Regions from separate parts of the Homo sapiens genome. Here regions 1, 2 and 4 are each linked to region 3. The links are contacts of gene promoters, found by promoter capture Hi-C in blood cells and fetal thymus (Javierre and others, 2016). All regions are on one chromosome and are shown on one strand. Each heading gives the region's core, a stretch centred on a gene start or on the middle of the fragment in contact. The rest is flanking DNA. Distances are from core to core; before and after follow the strand shown. Region 1 has its middle 44 kb from the start of LINC02620. Region 2 overlaps LOC105378464 (a long non-coding RNA gene). Region 3 holds the start of CFAP58-DT (CFAP58 divergent transcript). Region 4 holds the start of LOC105378464 (a long non-coding RNA gene).

Evidence for each region. Contacts are between HindIII fragments. The CHiCAGO score rates a contact against its expected background, and 5 or more counts as called.
Region 1: a fragment that was not itself captured here is called in contact with the fragment with the promoter of CFAP58-DT in region 3 in 1 of 17 cell types (neutrophils); the score reaches 5.2 in neutrophils.
Region 2: a fragment that was not itself captured here is called in contact with the fragment with the promoter of CFAP58-DT in region 3 in 4 of 17 cell types (M2 macrophages, neutrophils, M0 macrophages and 1 more); the score reaches 8.7 in M2 macrophages.
Region 4: a contact is called between a fragment that was not itself captured here and the fragment with the promoter of CFAP58-DT in region 3, in 2 of 17 cell types (M2 macrophages and M0 macrophages). The highest score is 10.0, in M2 macrophages.

What each region holds. Positions count from the first base shown.
Region 1 is chr10:104,522,341-104,525,942 of GRCh38, forward strand. No RefSeq gene overlaps it. Among named protein-coding and RNA genes, the nearest start is that of LINC02620, 44 kb to the left of the region's middle. The HindIII fragment of the contact is 2,140 bases long and covers 303-2,442 here.
Region 2 is chr10:104,585,341-104,588,671 of GRCh38, forward strand. It overlaps LOC105378464 (a long non-coding RNA gene), which reads left to right. Exons shown (of 8, transcript XR_007062285.1): 2 at 17-260. Among named protein-coding and RNA genes, the nearest start is that of SORCS3, 54 kb to the right of the region's middle. The HindIII fragment of the contact is 2,310 bases long and covers 131-2,440 here.
Region 3 is chr10:104,351,418-104,354,881 of GRCh38, forward strand. It overlaps CFAP58-DT (CFAP58 divergent transcript), which reads right to left and starts at 2,158. Exons shown (of 2, transcript NR_108036.1): 1 at 1,701-2,158; 2 at 1-510. It overlaps CFAP58 (cilia and flagella associated protein 58), which reads left to right and starts at 2,416. Exons shown (of 18, transcript NM_001008723.2): 1 at 2,416-2,489. The coding sequence starts at 2,481. RefSeq lists enhancers at 629-678, 699-808, 2,086-2,145. The HindIII fragment of the contact is 7,343 bases long and covers 1-2,867 here.
Region 4 is chr10:104,564,947-104,568,307 of GRCh38, forward strand. It overlaps LOC105378464 (a long non-coding RNA gene), which reads left to right and starts at 2,000. Exons shown (of 8, transcript XR_007062285.1): 1 at 2,000-2,077. The HindIII fragment of the contact is 9,974 bases long and covers 1-3,361 here.

The sequences.
Region 1 (3,602 bases), core at 123-2,622, 170 kb after region 3:
GGGAGAAGAGGGGCGAGGGAGAAACAACCCAGCCAAGAATCTGTGTAACAATCTCATCAAACCTGGGGTTTTCCCTTTGCTTTTTGAGAAGCAACTTCTCCTCTGATGTAAACATTTTTTTTTTAAATGATGATTCTGGGCTGAGTGGCACCAGGAGCCATCGCTTGGTGCTTTTCTCCAGCTCCCTCTGGTCCTCAGAGGAGGCAGAACAGGGCCTGTAACCATGGCAATTCTCTAATGTTCTTTCATAAACCATAAATATAGGGGAAGGCTTCATTACAGCTCCTTCAAGAAGAAAACAAAGCTTTCCCTGAATGGGGCAGGGCAGGGTGGCGGGGGGAGAGGGGAGGAGAAGGGAAGAAGGAAGACTTTAGGCTTTTTTTTTTTTTTTTTTTTTTTTTTTGCCACAAAGACAAACTGCGTCAGAATTGGCTCAGTTCAGAATGTGGCTCCAGCATTTAAGCAAGATGTAGCCCAGGGCCAGGCACAAAGCAGGCGCTCCTTAAGTATTAGTTGAAAGCAGGAAGGGAGAAAAGCAGGGAGGGAGTGATGTGGAAGGGAGAGGATTTGGAATCACACAGAGTAAATGTGAGTGGCCAGATGAGCCCACATTTTGAAAGGGTTTAATGTTCTGCTGACCTGTCTAACAGGCCCCTTGGAAGAGCAAGATGATGTACAGATTGTCCTACCTGAAGACTGTGGAGGAGAGGAAGGTGTCTCATCTCCCCAGTCTCCAAATCGTCAGCATTAAGAAGTGTTTGTTGAATAAACTGAATAAACAAATGAAGAGATGAGTGGACCAAATTTTTAAATGTCTTGGGAAGGGGTCATAATCATATTGAGAATATAAATATAATGAAAACTATGACTTCTTATTCCGAAATTACACTTATGAAAACACATTTTATGTGTCATTTCAGGATGTTTACAGATACTGATGACCATCCCTAGAATTCATATTGAGAATTTCCGTGCCACATTAACTTCCAGATGTCCTTGGGAAAAGTGTCTACTATGCTGCCTTGGTTTCCTCAATGAGAGTGAGAACAAATGGATCTGAAGAGGTGATCTTGGCCCTAATTTCCAAGTTCTGGGAAGATAAACAGGGTTTTCTTTTGAATCCTTCGGAGCCTGGGAGCTTCAAGAGAAACTCAACTCCAGGCACTTGAACTGACAGAGAATTTAGATTCTCCTCCAGGGAAAGGGGCAGAGCATGGATCCTGGCTTTGAGCCGCCTCCCAGCTTTTCTGTTGTCCTTGAGGCTGCTACGTTAACACTGTCCTTGCTTTGTGTGGTTTTGCTGTTACTACCTGTCCTGTGGATTTCTGACAATTACAAGCCGTGTACCCCACCACACATGCAAGCATTTCTCATTTATTCTGAGTACTTTAAGGACTGCCCAATCTGAATGCAGAGAACTATGTCTCATTCATTTTTGTGTGTCCAGGCCCTCACAGGGTTTGGGGATCCTGATATAGGGTTGGATTCGGTGACCTCTCAAATCCTCTTCAGCACTTTCATGCACAGAAGCCAGCATCCTCTGGACTGTCATTATCCAGTTTTATTAAAGCAGGTTACAATATAAAAGAACCCATCATCAGCCATCATCACTGATCTTGGATAGCTTGCCCTTGGCTGGTGGCCTAAGGATTCCTTTCTTTTTTTACCTATCAAAATCATTCTTGTACATAAGCTGTCCCCCTCCCTGCAAAGTATTCCTTGACTATCATAGACAAAATATGTCACTCCCTTCCCTCTTCCCATGATCTTTGCTTTACATTCAAATGTCACCATTTTATGGATCCATTTGTTTTCTTTATCGGATTGTAAATTCCTTGAGGGTGGAGACTGGATCTAATTCAACATGGTATCCCATGGTTCCTTGCCATGGGATATAGTGAAAATGCAGCAAGTGTGGGACTTGGTGAACAGCGGATAGTTCACTTGCTGCAGAGGATGGGTTTTTCTTTCTCTACCCATGCCCTTTGACTTTGAGTTTGGCCATTGGACTTGCTTTGGCCAATGGGATGCTCACAGACACCATGCAAGTAGAGGCTTAGAACATGTGTATGAACTTGACTTGCCCTCTGTGCTGTTAGGTCTCCTGACCTAAGGAGGAGGATGAGAAACACATGGACCAGACCTGCCCCAGCCAATCCGCAAGCCTGTGAGTGACAAATAAATGCATATTATTGGATGTCACTGATATTTGGAGGTTGTTTGTTTGTTAATGCAGCAACTGTTGCTTAATACAATTGTTAACTTAAAATGTAGGCTGAAAAACATAGGAGGCCTTGTGATGTTCATTGTCTTTATGGGTTGAGGTGGACATTTTAGAAAGAATGAAACAATCAGTGACTTGAAGAAGTGGTTGCTTATTCCTCGAATGGAAGACTGAAGGAAGGAAAAAAATATTTTCCCCCAAATCTTTCCTACAAGCCAAGCTTGTTGCTGCTAAAACCTGAAGGATGATGACTTTTGTGAGGGAAAGAATGAAATGGGGTTTCTTTGAAAAGCAGCACTTTTCCCCCTATAGTTACAAATGGTGTTGTTTTTGTTGTTGTTGTTGTTGTTTTCCCGTTGCTGACTTCTGTGAGTAACTCTGCAGCCTAAAATAATGTCTGTGTGTGCTTGCGAGGGTGTATGGATTTCAGACAAAGAGTCTGACTTAGATGCCTTTTGGAAAATTGGCCCTTTCCGTCATTCCGTCATGGGGTTCCCTGGCCAGCTCACTGGATTACTGCTGGCATAAGGGATGGGACACAAGAGGTGAGGGAGCCTAACTGGGCTTCCATCCTCGCCTGTGGCGTGAGAGTTTTCACACAGTGCACTCTCTTCAAGACCTGGACTTGCCAGAGCATGATAGTGGCCAGGCAAGAGGGTGCATGGTCCTTCTTCAAGCCAAACTTCTCACCCACTTCTAATCCGCAGCAGTTCCCAAGGAACTGGAGCCCAGTGCTGGGGCCTGAAAGTCATCCTGTGGGGCCTTGTGGTGGCCACAGCTGGGATGGCAGTTTTACTTAGCATCTACTACGTGCCAGGCTCTGCCAGACACAAAAGCAGCCCCCTCATCCTCTGCTCTCAAGGAGATTATGCCTCTGGGGGAAGATGGATATTGATAAGTAGTCACACAAATTAATGTAAATTTGTAACTGTGACAGGTGCTCCACAGGACTCTAAGAGCAAATAAGAGAGCCACTTGCTTTGGGGCAGCAAGGCAGGAAGATGGTTTCTGATGCCTCATCTTGCCACTCAAAGCCTTTGTCTTACCAAGGTCATAGCTACTCCGTATGGAGTTGTTGTGCACCCATTCTGCCAGGCACCCAGTCTGCCAGGCCCTCTCATGCCCCCAGTGACCTGCAGGAGCATACCCAGTGGCCCTGTTCCTCAGCCCCACGTCACTTCGTTCCTCCTTGATTCTCAGCCATCTTCTCACAGCTTTGAGACAACAGTCTGGACCTGCCTCCCTGAGTTGCGTGGCCAGTGTTGCTGAGCTGCACGTGTTAGGCACTGAAAGTGGAGTCCTATTCCAAGTGCAGGAGATAAAAAATAATATACAAGGCTGGGCGTGGTGGCTTATGCATGTAATTCCAGCACTTTGG
Region 2 (3,331 bases), core at 36-2,535, 230 kb after region 3:
TTTCTCTTCTCCAAAGGATTAGCTCAAATTCTTCTTGGAAGGGCTTGCAAGGTTTGCAGGAGGGTGCACAGTCGATCTGGGGAGAGAAGTAAACACAAGCAATGAAGATAGTGGAGTGGCCTGGACGGGAAGCTTCTTTTACAAAGGAAGGATGACAAGAGCCCACAGTTCTTATTGTGTAGGTAAAATGAGCCAGGGGCCATGCCAACCGCATCACATGGATTATCACCTTGGATTTTAACAGTAAGCCAAAGTAACAGGTAAACATGTTATTCCCATTTTACAGATAGAAAAATGGAAGTTTACAGAGGTGCAGTGGCTTCTACAAGGTCTCACTGAACCCATACCTTTCCAACTGCAGAATTTGCATGCTCAAACCATTACACTAGGATACGTTTGACAACTTTGCTCCAGAGTCTAGACTGTACTGTAAGATGACTTACAATGCAGCAGCTCCTGACTGCATGCTCAAGACCTTGATTTCTGCAACTCTGAATCCATTTGAGTTTATAAAATGAAAAATGAGCCCCTACTCCCTATTGATCCTAATCCTCATTCATCCCTAGTTTTGCTCATTTTGGCTTAGGCTCCACCTGGAAAACAAAACATTAACCACTGGGCTTTGTTTGCTCTGATGATCCTGCTCTGACCCTCACATAGCACGAGGCACCAAATGTCTGGCACCCTCCCTTGTGCAGAGGAATAAAGAAACCTGAAAACACACTATCATTTCAAAAACAGCCTGCCTGCCACGAAAGTAACAGTGTTCGATGATGCCATTGTATTTCTTCCTCCCTTTCAAAATCAATCTTTAGATTTTAGGCCTGAAAAGTAGGTGCCACTATCTTCTAATGATCTGCCAGGGGTTAGAAACGGAATGCTACACACCACTTAACATGTGAAATATGATTTATCTGTCGGGGCATATATGAAAAAAATGAAAAGAAATATCTAACAATAACCCTTCTGTTGAGTTTTGAAATGTAAATGTTTGCTAATGCTTTGCCGAAGACAGCTTCACTTGGGCTGAGAGCTATGTGTAAAGAAACATTAAAATGCATCATTTGCTCAGGGCTAAAAGTCATCAGCTTGTGATATTAATGCCCTTTAAAAAATAATTTGACGGCATGAAATCAGAGCACACCTTGTGCAAAGGATTGGCTCTTGTCAATTTTCTCGTGGATCTACTGAGCTATAATTGCATTTAGATCTTGCCAAAAATGAAAGTGTTCTTTTTAAAAATTCTCTCCATCTCTCATTTGCTGGAAGAAAGGTAAGGGGGTTAACTTTGATTTCATCTAGTGTGAAAGACCCCTGACCTATAGGCTGGAACATGCTGGTCAGCTAGAGGTCATGGGTTGTTATTGTTGTCTTTTCCTCCATCCTCAGCTCACAGGTTCCCAGCAGGGCTCATCTGGGTGAGTGCTGAGCTTAGGGGACCTGGGAGAGCCCAGTAACTAGATTAAGGCCACTTTGGCTGCAAGTGACAAAACTCTTCTCAAATTGGCTTAAGCAACAAATAGGAAATGTTTAAGGACACAACGGGTATCTTACAGAGTCTGGGGATGGGAAGGAGGTTGAGCCTTAGCCCACCTGGAAGCAGGGGCTGCCACGGATGTGTGCCTCCTGGATGTGTCTGGGGTGGGCTGTGGCTGCTAGTGGCTCCTGGGATGGGGCTGAGCCTAGTGGGGAGAGGGGGAAGATGAGGAGGAGGCGGATTCCATCCAGCTCTGGTCTTCCCTTCCTGCCTCATCTGGGGCAAGACCTCACTTTCTCCTGCAGTGGGTGGTGTAAGGGTTCCATTTGAAATAATGGTTCTGTGGTGAAGAAAGAAATTGGAAATAACTAGATAATTTCTTGGCCTCTTCACAAATTCTATAGCTTTGAGGATTACAACCACTTGATAGTCACAAGTGACAGGAGCGGTGCTTGAAGAATAAGCCATTTCTTCACTCTGTGATCATTTACCCAACAAAGGGGGAGCAGCTGAGGGTCGCAAGGGTAACAGATGAGCAAGGTACAGCAATGGCTGTGAAGGTGCCGCCTGTCTGGTTGCTATTCTGGAGGCTGGGTGTTCCAGGATGTGGTTTTTCACTCAAGGTCTCTGTACTTTCCTTTTATCTTTCTATTAAATTTTTTTTGATAGAATCTTTATATATGCGCGCGCGCGCGCGCGCGCGCGCACACACACACACACACACACACACACACACACACATATACATTGATGCATTTATTTCAACGATTTGTTCGACACATACTTATTGAGTGCCTACCAGGGGTTCCAGGCTCTGCGGATAGAGCAGTGAACAAAACAGAATTGGTGCGCTGTCCTCCTGGAACTAACTGGTTGGGATGGGGTGTGATTGCTTCTGCTTGATGCTGGTATTCCCACTTTCTCATCAGCAGTAAAGTGCCATGGCCATTTGACTCCTCAACAAGCTTAGCCCTGATCTTTAGCAGGCTTGTCAGTCCTTTAAATTAGTTTGGAAGGTTTCAAGTAGTGATTCTTAAAGTGTGTTCTGGAAACTCACATGGGTTATTTTTATCATAAAGCTAAAACACTTGTCTTTTTAAAATCTCTGTCATGAGTGAACAGTGGAGTTATCCAAAGTCTACACAATGTGTGAAATCAAAACAGATTGAATGGAGAAGCAGACATATGACTCCAATTGACTTCTATTAAGCCAGCCAATATAGAGATTTGCAAATAAGCAAAACAATGCCGCTCAATTCACTAGTTTTTTAAATTTTTGAAAATATAGTTATTTTTTAAAAAAACACCTAATTTATATTAACATGTTACACGTTTATGTTAAGGTACAATACATTTATTGTTTTTAATGAATTAGTGTCTTTTTTAAATGCTTTGGTTTTAATTTCAAATATGGTAAATATCAATAGATATAATCCACACAAAATTCTTTGAGGTTCTTAATTTTTAAGAGTGTAAAGGGGGCTGGGCACAGTAGCTCATGGCTGTGATCCCAGCACTTTGGGAGGCCAAGGCAGGTGGATCACCTGAGGTCAGGAGTTTGAAACTAGCCTGGCCAACATGGTGAAACACCGTCTCTACTAAAAAACCAAAAATTAGCCAGTCGTGATGGTGGGTGCCTGTAATCCCAGCTACTCAGGAGGCTGAGGCAGGAGGATCACTTGAAACCAGGAGATGGAGGTTGCAGTGAGATTGCGCCACTGCACTCCAGCTTGGGCAACACAGCCAGATTATGTCTCAAAAAAACAAGAGTGTAAAGGGGTCTTGAGACCAAAAACTTTGACAACTGCTAATTTAGAGGCAAAGGGTATTGCATGTGATGGGAGTCAGCATTCT
Region 3 (3,464 bases), core at 908-3,407:
CACAGAAGAATTTGGAATGGGGAACTTGCCCTTCAAGCATGATGACTAACTAAAAACCCACAGTGACAAAACCTTGTGGTACTGACACATGAACAAACCAGAGAGCTCAGAACATACTCATGTCTATTTGGAAACTTCCCCAAACCAATTTGGAAAGAATGGATTGTTTGACATGGGTTGTTGGAAAATTTGCTCACCCCATGGAGAAAAATATAGTTAGATCCCTATCTCACACCATATGGGAAGGAGAACTCCAGATGGATTAGATAACTGAATGTAAAAAAGTAAAACTATGAAGCTAATGGATAGAAAAAAATGATGGGAGAATACCTTTATGACCGTGGGGTTAAGGAGGTCTAAATAATACCAAAAAACTATATAAAAAATATAGGGAAAAAAAGAGCTAAAGAGCCACAGTATCAAAGTTAAGGACTATTGTTCCCTTAAAGACATAAAGGCAGAGTTTCTAGTCTTCTAAAGCAGATTGATGTCCAGGCTTCTCAAAGATATCTGTAAATCAAAAGAAAAAGAAAAAAGATCAATAGAAAAATAGACACAGACACTGAAAAGGCAGTTCACAGAAGGGAATCTCAAGTAGCCTATGAATGTATAAAGAAATGGTCAAAAAATTCACTAGTAGTTAGAGAAGTGAAAATGAAAGCAAAAAATGAGCTTACACTACTTTCATCATATTGACAGAAATTAGAAAATTAGCTAATTAGATGAGTCAATATTTGCAAAGCACTTAGAATAGTATCTGGTATTTACTAAACACTTTATGAGTGTTTAATAAAAAAGACCTATCACCTTCTGGAAGGGATGGATGGAAGTGTTGGATGGAAACCCCACACTGGAGTGCAGCGTAGGGCAGTAACTCTGGTACACAATCTTAAAGTGCTTGGTAAGTACCCAGGGCTTGTACTAGGCTACTGGGCATCGTTGTGCTCTTGGAAAACTGTTCATCTGGCCAGATGAGTTTGAAAATATCACACCCTCTAGATAGTTACAGCCTTCTAGGTTCATGACTTGGCTGGCGTACAGAGATTTTGTGAGAATAAAAAGTGCACACCTTTCTCCAGTAGGGCACATGGCACGGGAAAGAGAGTAGAGACAGTTTTTCAGCCTCCATTGCCCCATGGCTGGATGTGTTTGTGCAGGACGCAGCTGCATAAGCAAATGTCCCTGTGCATCCCTATAACTTTAACAATCTTACTCCTTGGCATATATTTCAGAGGAATTTGCACAGAGGTCCTTAAGGGACCACGGACAAAGACGATCATGGCTGTATTACTTGATGTATTGGAGAATTAGAGGCGGCCTTGTTACCTAACACCTGGGGAATGGAAGTGAAGTGTGGTAGATGCCCCTTATGAAACGCTGTGCAGTACTCAGAAGCAATGAACTATATGCTTGCCAATCGCAACGAGGACAGATCCTTAAAAAGAATGTTGAGTGAAAAAAGTAGAAAATAAGATAATCTCCAAAGTCCAGTAGCATTATTTAAACATTTTTAAAAAATACACTGATAAAAATTTTGTACATTTCCCAAAAATACATATGGAAGCACAGCAGCATGAATGCCTATGGGGTTGAGGATAGGGGTTGGGAGTAGGGATGGGGATAAAGGGGGAAAATAAAACCAGAGAGGAGTCTTACACATTTCATGAACCAAGGAGTATAATTATTTCAACTATTTGTACCTGAAGTCCAGAAAGAGTGGAGGCAGAAGGGGGAGAAGAGGGCGAAGAAACGTTTTTGGGAGAGGGGTCCCAGAAGAGAGATTTTCGCGATGTGGCGCTACATACGTTTTTCCAGGATGCCTTAAGCTCTGCACCCTATTTTTCTCATCACTAATATTAGATTAAACCCTTTGAAGACAGCGTCTGTGGTTTCTCTACTTCAGCTTTCCCTCCGTGTCTTGCACACAGTAGCTGTTTTACAAGGGTTGAACTGACTGAAGTGAGATTATTCCTCGTTGTCTCGGAAGGCAGAGTGTAGCCGCCAGTCCTTCCCTCATCCGGAACCTTCTGGTCCACATTTCCTTCCAAGCGTTAGTCCTCGGCTCTCCATGCTTGGCTCCCTAGTGTCACACACCGTCCTTTCTGGGTGGCCTCTTCCAATTCGCCCTCTTCTTTCTCCTGGGTGTCTCCATCTGCCCACACCGTGGGACTCCTCCCAGCCTCTCAGGGGCACCGCCCCCTCACTTCCTTGGCTCCGCCCCATTGGGATATATTTGCATATTTCTCTGAGGAACCCTGCCCAGGTGCCAGCCGCAGAAGCTCCTCCCCTTTCGAATTCCCGCTAGCGCCCCTAGAGGGCGTGTCCGTTGCCAGGCGACGGGCCGACGCGCCGAGCGCGGGTTTCCGCTCGGGGCGGGCGATAGAGACAGCGCGTCGCGCCTTTAGCTTCTTTCCCAGACTCCGGCCCAGCTCCTGCGATCTCCACAGCAGCCTCTGAGGCCGCCCCCAGAGAGCATCAGGATGGCTGAGGTCAGGAGTCAGCGCCCCTCTGTCGCCTTTCCCTTGACCCCTCCCCATTGTCCCTCTCCTACTGACGATTGTCACAAACGGTGATTCCAATATTTCCCCCCATCAACATCTTATTCCCCTGCACCCTCACTCACTCCCGCGCCTTTCTCCGTTGGCTCTGGCCTCTTTACCTCCTGTTTCTCCTTCATTTGTGTGGACACCCCACTATCCCCACTGTGGCATCGGCGCTATGCTAAGTGCGGTAGAAAATTAATGAATTCTGAAATCCACACGTGACATGCACCCAGCCCTAGATTTTTAGTCATGGAGTGATACCATAAGAGAGGCTCACACAGAAATATTGGAGATGTCTTATCTCACAGGGGAAACCGGGAAGAAAGCTTCACAGATGCCTGCTGTCATCCCAATCAATGGCCCTTGTCCACCTGTCACACCCTGATTTCCTAACATGTGATCACCTGCTGTCACACAGCTTCATTAAGGCTCTTCTGCCCATCACCTCTGCCCCGTGTGTTCATTGACTCCTGTGTTAACATCTCGTATCACCCCACCACTCCCCCATATTACAGTACACCCCATTTTCAGCCTCTCCAATGAGGGGTTATTTCTGCAACCCTTCAGTGACTCCCTGCCTGCCCCTTAGCCCCCTCACGTATAACCTCAAGAGCCTCGGGTCCCTGTCATTACTTGCCATTCACAGTCCCCATCCACTATGGCCCTACCCAAATCCTTCATGGCCCCATCAGAGCCCTTCCCCCATCACCCATCCCACGGTCTGTTCCAGCCAGGACCAGCTACATGATTTGCAAGGCCTGATGCAAAGTGAAAACACAAAGTCTCTTCAAAAATTACAAATAATTTTAAGACAGAACAGCAGAGCATTCAACCAAGAATGGGGCCTTTCTGAGCAAGGGGCCCTGTGCAACTGACCAGTTTTCACTCCCATGAAGCCAGCCCAAGCCCCATCATCTTTCA
Region 4 (3,361 bases), core at 140-2,639, 210 kb after region 3:
GTAGGTTATTCATCCATCCAGGCAAACACTATTCATTTTCTGTCTTTATGTGTCATCCTGTGCTAAAGGTCATGGGAGCAAGGGTCTGTAAGGATGATTGAGATTTGATTTCTATTTCCAGGTAACTTTGTTTTTTAACAAACTTCTTTTTTTTTTTTTAAGTGGCTTTTCTGGTGTATTCTTTCTTTTTAATTGAGATGAAATTCACACGACATAAAATTAACCATTTAAAGTGAACAATTCACTGGCATTTAGTACATTCACAATGTTGTGTAAACACCGCCTACCTCTACCTACGTCTAAAACAGTTGCCTCATACCCTATGAAAGTAAAGTAAAGAAAGTAGTTACTCCCTATTCCTCCCTCCCCTAGCCCTTGGCAACCACCAATGTGCTTTCTGTTTCTATGGATTTACCTATTCTAGATATTTCGTATAAATGGAATCATACAATAAGCTACTGTGCCTGGCTGGCATTTTCATTTCTGTAAAAAAGCTGCTAGAATTTCGATAAGGATTGCATTTGTAGATCACTTCGAGTAGTATTGCCATCTTAACAATAGTAAGTTTTCCAGCTCATGAACATGAGGTATCTTAACACTTATTTAGGTCTTTCAACAATGTTTTGTGGTTTTCAGCATACAAGTTATTCGTCCTGGTTAGATTTATTTGTAGGTATTTTATTCTTTTCATGCTATTGTAAATGAAATTGTTTTTCTTAATTCACTTTTCAGATTGTTTATTGCTGGTGTATCAAAGCACAACTGATTTTTGTATCTTATACTTCGAAATTGTTGAATTGGTTTATTAGCTCTACTAGTTTATTTTGTGGATTCTCTGAGATTTCTTATATGTAAGATAATGTCACCTGTGAATAGAACTAGGTTTACTTCTTCTTTTCCAATTTGGATACTTTTTTTAAAGATTCAAATTTATCTATTTATTTTAATTGACAAATAAAAATTATATGTATTTATCGTGTACAACATGACATGTAAAAATATGTATGCAAGGTGGAATGGCTCAATTGAGCTAATTAGTGTATGCAGTACTACACAAACTTATTTTTTTGTGGTAAGAACACCTAAAATTTACTCTCTTGGGAAGTTTCAAGGGTACATTGTTATTCATTATGGTCACCATGTTGTACAATAAATCTCTTGAACTTATTTCTCCCATCTAACTGACATTTTGTATGTTTTGACCAACATCTCCTCAATCCCTACCCCACAGCACCTGGTAGCTACCATTCTACTCTTTGCTTCTATGAGTTTAACTTTTTTATATTCTACGTGTAAGTGAGATTATGCCGTATTTGTCTTTCTGTGCCTGGCTTATTTCACTTAACATAATATCCTCCAGATTCATTCATGTCATCACAAATGACAGGATTTTTTTCTTTTTAAAGGCTGAATAGTATTCCATCATGTATATATATACCACATTTTATGTATCCCTTGATGAACATGTAGGTTAATTCCATATCTTGGCTGTTGTGAATAATGCTGCAGTGAACATAGGAGTACAGATACCTCTTCAACATACTGATTTTATTTCCTTTGGCTATATACCTGGCGGTGGAGTGGTTGGATTCTAGAGTAATTCTATTTTTAATTTTTTGAGGAATCTCCATACTATTTTCCATAATATCTGTACTAATGTACATTCTTACCAGCAGTATACAGAGGTTTTCTTTTCTCCGCATCCTTGCCAGCACTTGTTATCTTTTATCTTTTTGATATAATCATTCTAACAGGTATGAGGTGATATCTCATTGTGGTTTTAATTTGTATTTTGCTGATGCTATGGTCTGAATGTTCATGTGTGCCTCAACATTTATATGTTAGAATCTAAAACCGACTGTGATAGTATTAAGAAGTGGGTTTTTTGGGAAATGAGTAAGTCATGAGGGCTTCACCCTCATGAATGGGATTAATGACCTCATAAAAGAGAATCAAAGGACCGCCCTTATCCCTTTCTTCATGTGAGCACACAGCCATTTTTGAAGCACAGAACAAGTCTTCATCAGACACAGAATTTGCTGGCACCTGGATTTTGGACTTTCCAGTCTTATGAACTGTGAGCCATACATTTCTGTTGTTTATAAATTATTCAGTCTAAGGTATTCTGTTACAGCAGTAGGAACAGACTGAGACATCTAATGATTACTGAAGTTGAACATTTTTTCATATACCTGTTGACCATTCATATGTCTTATTTTGAGAAATGTCTATTTAGGTCCTTTGGCTCACTTTAAAATCAGTCACTGGTTCTCTTACTATAGAGTTGTTTGAGTTTTTTATATGTTTGGGATATCAATTCCTTATCAGGTGTATGGTTTGCAAATACATTCTTCCAATTCGTGGGTTGTCTCATCACTCTGTTTATTATTTCCTTAGCTGTGCAGAAACTTTTTAGTTTGATGTAGTCTTGTCTATTTTTGCTTTTGTTGCCTGTGCTTTTAGGGTCATGTGTAAAATATAATTGCCCATGCTGATGTCATGAAATTCTACCTCTATGTTTTCATCTAGTAGTCTTACAGTTTCAAGTCTTATGATTAAGTCTTAATCCATTTTGAGTTAGTTTTTATATATGGTATAAGATAGGATCTAATTTCATTCTTCTGCATGTGGCTATGCTCTTGTGACAACACCACTTATTGAAAGGCCCGTCGTTTCCCCACTGTGTGTTCTTGGCAACTTTGTCAAAAATTAATTGACCATACATATGTGGATTTATTTCTGGATTATCTAATTCTGCTTCAATTATCTATTTGTCGGTTTTTACACTAGTACTATGCTGTTTTGACTACTATAGCTTTGTAGTATATTTTGAAATCAGGTAGTGTGATGCCTCCAGCTTTGTTTATTGTGCTCAACATTGCTTTGGTTATTCAGGCTGTTTTGTGGTTCCATATACATTTTAGGACTTTTTTTTTCTATTCCTGTGAAGAATGTCATTGGTATTTTGATATGAACTGCACTGAATCTGTAGATTGCTTTGGGTATTACAGTATGAACATTTTAACAATATTAATTCTTCCAATCCATGAACATAGGATATCTTTCCATTTATTTGTGTTTTCTTCAATTTCTTTCATCAATGTTTTATAGTTTTCAGTGAGTAATTCACTTCTTTGGTTAAATTTTTTCTTAGGTATTATATGTTATTTTGTAACTATTATAAAGGGGATTGCCCTCTTGATTTATTTCTTGGAAAGTTCATTGTTAGTGTATAGAAATGCTATTGATGGTTATGCTTTATTTCTTTTATAATTGCTTTGTATAGAACTTCCAGTACAATATCGAATAACAGTAGTAAAAGTAGGAGTCTTTGTATTGTTCTTGATCTTAGGAGTAAAGA